Regions from separate parts of the Homo sapiens genome. Here region 1 is linked to region 2. The links are contacts of gene promoters, found by promoter capture Hi-C in blood cells and fetal thymus (Javierre and others, 2016). All regions are on one chromosome and are shown on one strand. The core of a region is centred on a gene start or on the middle of the fragment in contact, and the rest is flanking DNA. Distances in the headings are between cores, read along the strand shown. Region 1 overlaps ABCC5 (ATP binding cassette subfamily C member 5). Region 2 holds the start of AP2M1 (adaptor related protein complex 2 subunit mu 1).

Region 1 (3,497 bases), core at 69-2,568, 250 kb after region 2:
GAGCCGTGGATCCTCTGAATCACCCTGCATGACCCAGAGCTGTGTCCTGACGGCGTCTCCTTCTTTTGCAGGTGGTGGAGTTTGACACCCCATCGGTCCTTCTGTCCAACGACAGTTCCCGATTCTATGCCATGTTTGCTGCTGCAGAGAACAAGGTCGCTGTCAAGGGCTGACTCCTCCCTGTTGACGAAGTCTCTTTTCTTTAGAGCATTGCCATTCCCTGCCTGGGGCGGGCCCCTCATCGCGTCCTCCTACCGAAACCTTGCCTTTCTCGATTTTATCTTTCGCACAGCAGTTCCGGATTGGCTTGTGTGTTTCACTTTTAGGGAGAGTCATATTTTGATTATTGTATTTATTCCATATTCATGTAAACAAAATTTAGTTTTTGTTCTTAATTGCACTCTAAAAGGTTCAGGGAACCGTTATTATAATTGTATCAGAGGCCTATAATGAAGCTTTATACGTGTAGCTATATCTATATATAATTCTGTACATAGCCTATATTTACAGTGAAAATGTAAGCTGTTTATTTTATATTAAAATAAGCACTGTGCTAATAACAGTGCATATTCCTTTCTATCATTTTTGTACAGTTTGCTGTACTAGAGATCTGGTTTTGCTATTAGACTGTAGGAAGAGTAGCATTTCATTCTTCTCTAGCTGGTGGTTTCACGGTGCCAGGTTTTCTGGGTGTCCAAAGGAAGACGTGTGGCAATAGTGGGCCCTCCGACAGCCCCCTCTGCCGCCTCCCCACGGCCGCTCCAGGGGTGGCTGGAGACGGGTGGGCGGCTGGAGACCATGCAGAGCGCCGTGAGTTCTCAGGGCTCCTGCCTTCTGTCCTGGTGTCACTTACTGTTTCTGTCAGGAGAGCAGCGGGGCGAAGCCCAGGCCCCTTTTCACTCCCTCCATCAAGAATGGGGATCACAGAGACATTCCTCCGAGCCGGGGAGTTTCTTTCCTGCCTTCTTCTTTTTGCTGTTGTTTCTAAACAAGAATCAGTCTATCCACAGAGAGTCCCACTGCCTCAGGTTCCTATGGCTGGCCACTGCACAGAGCTCTCCAGCTCCAAGACCTGTTGGTTCCAAGCCCTGGAGCCAACTGCTGCTTTTTGAGGTGGCACTTTTTCATTTGCCTATTCCCACACCTCCACAGTTCAGTGGCAGGGCTCAGGATTTCGTGGGTCTGTTTTCCTTTCTCACCGCAGTCGTCGCACAGTCTCTCTCTCTCTCTCCCCTCAAAGTCTGCAACTTTAAGCAGCTCTTGCTAATCAGTGTCTCACACTGGCGTAGAAGTTTTTGTACTGTAAAGAGACCTACCTCAGGTTGCTGGTTGCTGTGTGGTTTGGTGTGTTCCCGCAAACCCCCTTTGTGCTGTGGGGCTGGTAGCTCAGGTGGGCGTGGTCACTGCTGTCATCAATTGAATGGTCAGCGTTGCATGTCGTGACCAACTAGACATTCTGTCGCCTTAGCATGTTTGCTGAACACCTTGTGGAAGCAAAAATCTGAAAATGTGAATAAAATTATTTTGGATTTTGTAAAACTCTTCGTGTATCAAACAATTCTCTGGGAAGGGAGTGAGATATCCCTGAATGGCTTTGGGACCTGCATATCCAGCAATGGAGTTGCATCTGGGAAGGACTGGTAGCAAAGCTGGTTGGTTGCAAGGGCCATGGGGCCCTGAACACCTGGAATCATCTCTGTGGGCCTTAGTCCCGCTGCCTGTGTTCCTGGACATGGTCCCCAAATAAAGCTCCTTGGCTGCCCATAAGAGGGTGGGGAGTGGAAAGGTGAGTGGTTGTGGTGAGGTGGGTGGTCGTGGTGAGATGTATTTAAAATGAATAGTTTATCGAGGATTCTTAGCAATTCAAACAATATAATTACCCTTTCAGCCAATTCATTCAGATTCACCCATTGAAAATTAGTAACCCCGTCTCTACTAAAAATACAAAAATTAGCCTGGTGTGGTGGCAGGCACCTGTAGTCCCAGCTACTCAGGAGGCTGAGGCAGGAGAATCACTTGAACTCGGAGGTGGAGGTTGCGGTGAGCTGAGATCGTGCCATTGCACACCAGCCTGGGCGACAGAGTGAGACTCCGTCTCAAAAAAAAAAAAAAAAAAAAAGCAAAGGGTACTCATTCTAAAGTTTCTGACTATATTGTGTTGAATGCAGCCAAGAAAGCTTTTAAACTGGTATTAGTTTGCTGGCCATCAGTAGAAATTATACTAATTTTTCTAAAGTACCTGTGCTGTCGTGAGAACCCAGGAGCTTGACTCTAAAGTTAAAACTTTAGTTCCTAGAGTGTCACATTTCAAGCGCTCAGTAGCTGTATGCGACCTGTACAACATAGTAATGTACAGTGCAGATATAGGACGTGTCGATCATTGCAGGAAGTTCTGTTGGGCAGCTCCAATCTAAACGGTAACCACTTTTACTGAGGCACTAGATTTATCTTCCAAGAAGGTAACAAGGTCAGCAGAACGAGACCCTTCAAACTGCTGGGATTACAGGCATGAGTCACTGTGCCCAGCCTAAATTGGATTTTTAAAAGCAATTTCCATTTTGCCATTTTGTGCTTTCCCAGCTCATAATTCTCTGTTGCCAAGTAGAGTAGGCTAACAGGTGTAAGAAACAAGCCCAGACTTTCAGCAGTTTACCACAGTAACCAAACTCCTGTAGCAAAGCAGTGTGGTCTGTGGAGGGGTGGAATGAAGGTTCTGCCCGTGCGTTCAGGAACCCAGTCTCCCTCCCTCCTGGTCACCCTGCAAACCTCTAGATTTGAGCTTCTCTGCTGGATCCACTGTGCTGATCAGAGAAGAGAGCACAGAATGTTGAGCAGAAAGTGTTATGAAACAGGCCTGAAAACATTAGACATCGCTTCTGTGCTCGTTTTCTTGGCTAGAACTCAGGGGCACCTGTAAGCTAAGCACTGTACTAGGTACTTCTAGCATGGCCTTACGTGATTTTCTCAACCACTTTACAAGGTAGCTAAAATTAAGCACATTTTGCTGATGAGGAAAGGCTCGTGAAGATTTAACTTGTCTCAAGCCAATATCCAGTATGAAGTGAATCACACAGAATTCAAACCCAAACAGCCTGCTCCCAGAGTTCAAGCTGTTCCTCATCTCATGACCTGAGCTTCAATTTCATCAGCAAATTCAATTTCATCAAATGCATGTGCTAGATCAGATTGCCTCTAAGATTTCTTCCAGCTCTAACTCCATGACTAGTGTGAGTCCATAACTAGGACCTGAAAAACCTGGATCCTGCTCACCTCATTTGGGACATGGCTCTAGAACTCTGCCTCTTCCTCTTTGCTTCCACTAGGGAGGTGGTGTGTACTGGGAGCAGATTTCCTCTTTTCCTGGAATCTTTTCTGTGTCCTGTTTCTTTCTGCCTGTGGCCTGAATTCAGCATTCTTCCTTGGCTCAGGCAAACTCCCTTCTACCTGCTCAGGTGGACTCAGCTTAGGAGGACTAAGCTGGCTGCTGTCCAAGTGAG
Region 2 (4,081 bases), core at 1,138-3,637:
GGGCCAATACCACCAGACCTAATGGGAGCCAGGCTACACTAGCTGAGCTTCCAGGGTGCAGCCAGGGGTCAGGGTGGCCCAAGTCAAGCCAATGGTGGGAAAAGACCTAATCCTGTATGCTGGGGCTGGGGGGCTGGAGTGGTGGGGCACAGCTGGCTCCGCCAGGGGACTCACCCGATGTCATCTCGGTAGACTCGGGAGATGAGCACCTCCCCCTTGTGATTATAGATGAATAAGCCTCCAATCATGGCGGCAGATCAGTCTCCGCGGCCCATCGCTCTGAGAACAGACCTAGGACAGGCGGGGGCAGGGTAAAAGAAGACCTCAGAATCGCTGCCAACATCCCCTGTGGAGCTGTGCAGGTCACTGGAGCTTCTTTCCTGACTCAACCCTTTAGTAAGTGACCCTGCAGCCCTCCCAGACATGCCCCTCCCCTCAGCCAGGCTCCAGTTCCTGTTTATTCCACACTAGATGGGAGAAAGAAACAGAGAGAGATTAGGCCCAGGATTCTAAGGCCATTTTGACCCTCCCTTTCCTGGGGCTGAGCATCAGTAACCCCCGCCCCCTCTCCCCAGCACTGAGCTCAGGAATGATCCTTTTCGGCCCCCTCCTGTGCAGACTCTCGGGCTCCCGCCAGTGACTCACTAAGGCTTGCCTGCCTGCCTGCGGCTGCAGGAATGGCGGTAGGCATTACTCCAGTTGGTTCAGGCCTGGGGCCCCCAGGCATAACCTTTAGAGCATCCAGTCTCTTGGGCTCCACTACCCTTCAGAGAAGGTCGCAGGGCCTGAACTTCCGGCACTCTAATTCACAGAATTCAAACATTCCAGGAAAGGGTATAAGGAGAAGAGAAGGGAGCCCTTAGGCCCTAATGTGGACCCGGGAGTGTGGCTTAACCTCTTCCAGGCAGTGGAATAAGCAGGCAAAGGGCACAGGAGGAAGGTCCTAGGGCTGGCAGACTACACTTCCATCACCCAAGCTGCTTATTACAGTTATTTCTGATTACCACCCCCCTTTCAAAAAGCTCTGGAATGCAATAAAAATAAGGACTGGGGGGTGGGGGTGGCGCAGGCTCATAAAATTAAGAAATCCTTCCATCTGAAATCGTGATTCCAGGCCCATGAAGTAACTCATTTCTGGCCTGGGTGCCTATAAGCAAGAAGCAGGGATGTCAGGATGCCTGAATTATCCAAATTATTTGGGTCAAATTAATTTAGACTGTTTGAGAAAAGGCATTAATTTGGTTTTAGATTTCCTGGATTAGCCCTGGTATTAATTTCACAGGGAGTACTTTAGAGGACTTTTCTAAACTGGAAAATAAAGCCTTTTCCTGTGGCTGTCAAGGTCTTCCAGAGGGGTGAGCGGTCTCTCAAGGTGGTGGACTCATCCCATCCCTCAGTCCCAAACAGGCTGGGAGAGGAGATGCAAAATGGAGGTAGAGCCTGGGGCAAAGCACCAAGTCCACAGGTATCGAGTGGTAGGTAGCGAAGGGCACCCGAGAACCAGAGGGGGGCCTTGGGCAAGAATGGAACATTTAGTTAAGGGGAAAGACCTTCAGTGAAAGCCAGGCAGCGTCCTCAGGTGAGCCCACAGCAGCAAACTGGGCTGGTGGAGTGAACGTAAAGGTAAGGGTTTCCAGTATGGAAAAGGTCAAGGCTTTAAGAAGGAAAAACCGGCCGGGGGAACTGACAGTGGTGAATAAGGGAAAGCTGGGGAGACAGAGCCTGCTTGGGGTTCAGGTGCAGAGTAATGAGAGGGTGGTAGGCTTTTCGCCTTGGGGAGGACATTGTGGGAAAAGATGGTGCCATGGGGGTGCGGGGGCTGTCACAGGTCTAAGGAAGAAGAGCCGCGGGGTGCCACTGAACTAAGAGGAGGGGGTGCCGCATGGCGTGAGACCTGTCACGGTGCAAGGCGGCGGCACAAAGGGGTGTCACTGTCCTACGAGACGGGGAAATTGTCCTTGCGCGGAGGGGTAGGGGGTTGGCACGATCCTAGGGAGGGGGCGCTGCGCAGCGTTCCTGCTCTGGGAGGATTCCAAGCGGTATCCCTCTCATGGGAGGCGCCAGGCGGGTCAGGTGGAGGGCACCGCTCCCCGCCAGCCCTGCAATCGCGCCCCGGGCGCCCCCGCCCCACCGTCAGCTAGCTCCCGGGTCCGAAGGCTGAAGCCACTCCCGGGTGTGGGCAGCTTTCCGCCAGCTCAGTGCAGGGCAGGACAAAGCTGCGCGGCGAGGCAGACGACCCGCAGCGTCCTCCTCCACGCCATAAGGCCAGATCCCCGGCTCACCTGGTGTCCTCGGCCCCCTGCTCTGCCGGCCCGGCCACTCTCCGGATCCCAAGATGTCCGCCCGCCCCCTGCTCGTCTGCCCGCTGCCTCGGCTTTCACCGCAGTGCCGCCGCCCCGCCCCGGCCCCGGCTGCGCGTGCGCGCCGGCGTCTAGCGCCGACTACAAATCCCGTCAGGCCTCGCGGCCTCCTTGCTTGCAATTTGAAGCGCTCTAGGTTTAGCAAAACTACAACTACCGACTGCCTTCGAGAAACCGCCCCCGCCTCAGGAAGGGGTAGGCGTGGCCTTAGTCGGCCCTACCAGAAATACACATTCCAGCATACACCGCTCCACCCGCCTCATTTTTTTTTTTTTTTTTTTTTTTTTTTTTTTTTTCACTGAGCGCTCTGGGAATTGTAGTCCCTGCACTTCCTCCTGTTCCTATTTGTGTTCTGGAGAGCTTTGGGATATTAATGCCATTTGTGGAAGCACATCTGTTAAGCCTTGGATTGCTGTAGGCCTTTTCTGTCTCCAGAGTCCCAGGACTGGCTGTCCTCACTTTACACACAAATAAATACAACTGGGCAGTAGAAGTGTTTGTGCTGAATTTACTGCTTTCTAACACTACCTCTGATTCTCTCAAGCTTTTCTCATATATTTGTTCCGGACATGAGCTTTTTCCAAGGGATCAAGACCCAAGGAGAGGAGCGGGGAGGAAGGAGGCGACTACTTGGAAGAAACTAAACCTTTTCACAAATAAGTCCATGACTGTACACTCTTCCCGGAGGTCAGCTACAGCTTTTCATGAACGAGCCGATGTTCTCCTTAGCTATACCTATGCGACTGTGTATGCCTTCTAGTGACAGGCATATATGTTGCTTAGAAGACGTTCGAAGAGTTGAATTTAGTTTGACATGGGATTTGAAATCCCCTCTTTGATAAACAGAATCTTTACATCCAAGCTGAGGAGACAGACCCAACCCTCACACATGAAAGGCCTGCTTGGTTCTTGCAGAGTCTTAAGAAAATCTGTTGGCTCTTCTCTTTCTGTAGGCAGAGATAAACTGCTGCCTTCCTTGGGCAGGACTACGCCTGTCATGGGAGGAAGGAAGGGCAAGAAAGGACAGATCTGGTTGCAAATGTTACAGTCCTTCCCAGCCTCCAGCCAGAAGCCACGATGTGGCAGGATGAAGATCTGACCTCTCTCACATCATAGTCACGGCCTGAAGTCATTAAGTGACTGAATACAGGCACTTCTAATTTTTGAACCAGCACTCAAGGCTTCACTTCTACCTTTGCAAAAGCTTTATCTTCCAAAAATACCCTAAACTGCTACCAATTTAGAGTAAATAATAATAATGATAAAATAATAATAATAATAGCTACCATTTATTGAGCACCTACTCTACTGTGTGCCAGGCACTGTGCTAGGCACTTTTCGTACAATATCTAATTTAAATCCTCACAACAACCCTGTGAGGTAGGTATTATTATCATCATTTTACATACGAGGGAACTGAGGCTCAGAGAGGTTAAATAACTCTATCACACAACCAAAAATAGTAGAGCTGGAATTCAAACCCAAAACCACCTAACTCCAAATCCCATGCTCCAATGAATTAAAGTAGAGAGGGGAGAGGGAGGGCCAAATTCAAGACAGAGTGTTGGAGTGAAATGGATATGATATGCTGATAAGATATGGGAAGAAGGAATGTAAGCTCATAAATGTTTCTAGCTGGTGAGCCTATGTAGATTGTGATGAAGTAACCAGGAGAGGAATTCAGGAGGAACATACTTGGTTGGGCAGATGAGTTGAGTCTA

The links. The method cuts DNA at HindIII sites, captures the fragments that hold promoters and counts their contacts. A CHiCAGO score of 5 or more calls a contact.
Region 1: a contact is called between a fragment that was not itself captured here and the fragment with the promoter of AP2M1 in region 2, in 1 of 17 cell types (M1 macrophages). The highest score is 5.4, in M1 macrophages.

The regions. Positions count from the first base shown.
Region 1 is chr3:183,917,976-183,921,472 of GRCh38, reverse strand. ABCC5 (ATP binding cassette subfamily C member 5) reads left to right here. Exons shown (of 30, transcript NM_005688.4): 30 at 72-1,539. The coding sequence ends at 173. Among named protein-coding and RNA genes, the nearest start is that of MIR4448, 33 kb to the right of the region's middle. The HindIII fragment of the contact is 1,722 bases long and covers 458-2,179 here.
Region 2 is chr3:184,173,161-184,177,241 of GRCh38, reverse strand. AP2M1 (adaptor related protein complex 2 subunit mu 1) reads right to left here and starts at 2,387. Exons shown (of 12, transcript NM_004068.4): 1 at 2,283-2,387; 2 at 175-291. The coding sequence starts at 248. DVL3 (dishevelled segment polarity protein 3) reads right to left here. Exons shown (of 15, transcript NM_004423.4): 15 at 3,628-4,081. RefSeq lists enhancers at 1-737, 2,270-2,339 and a silencer at 2,010-2,059. The HindIII fragment of the contact is 5,273 bases long and covers 1-2,906 here.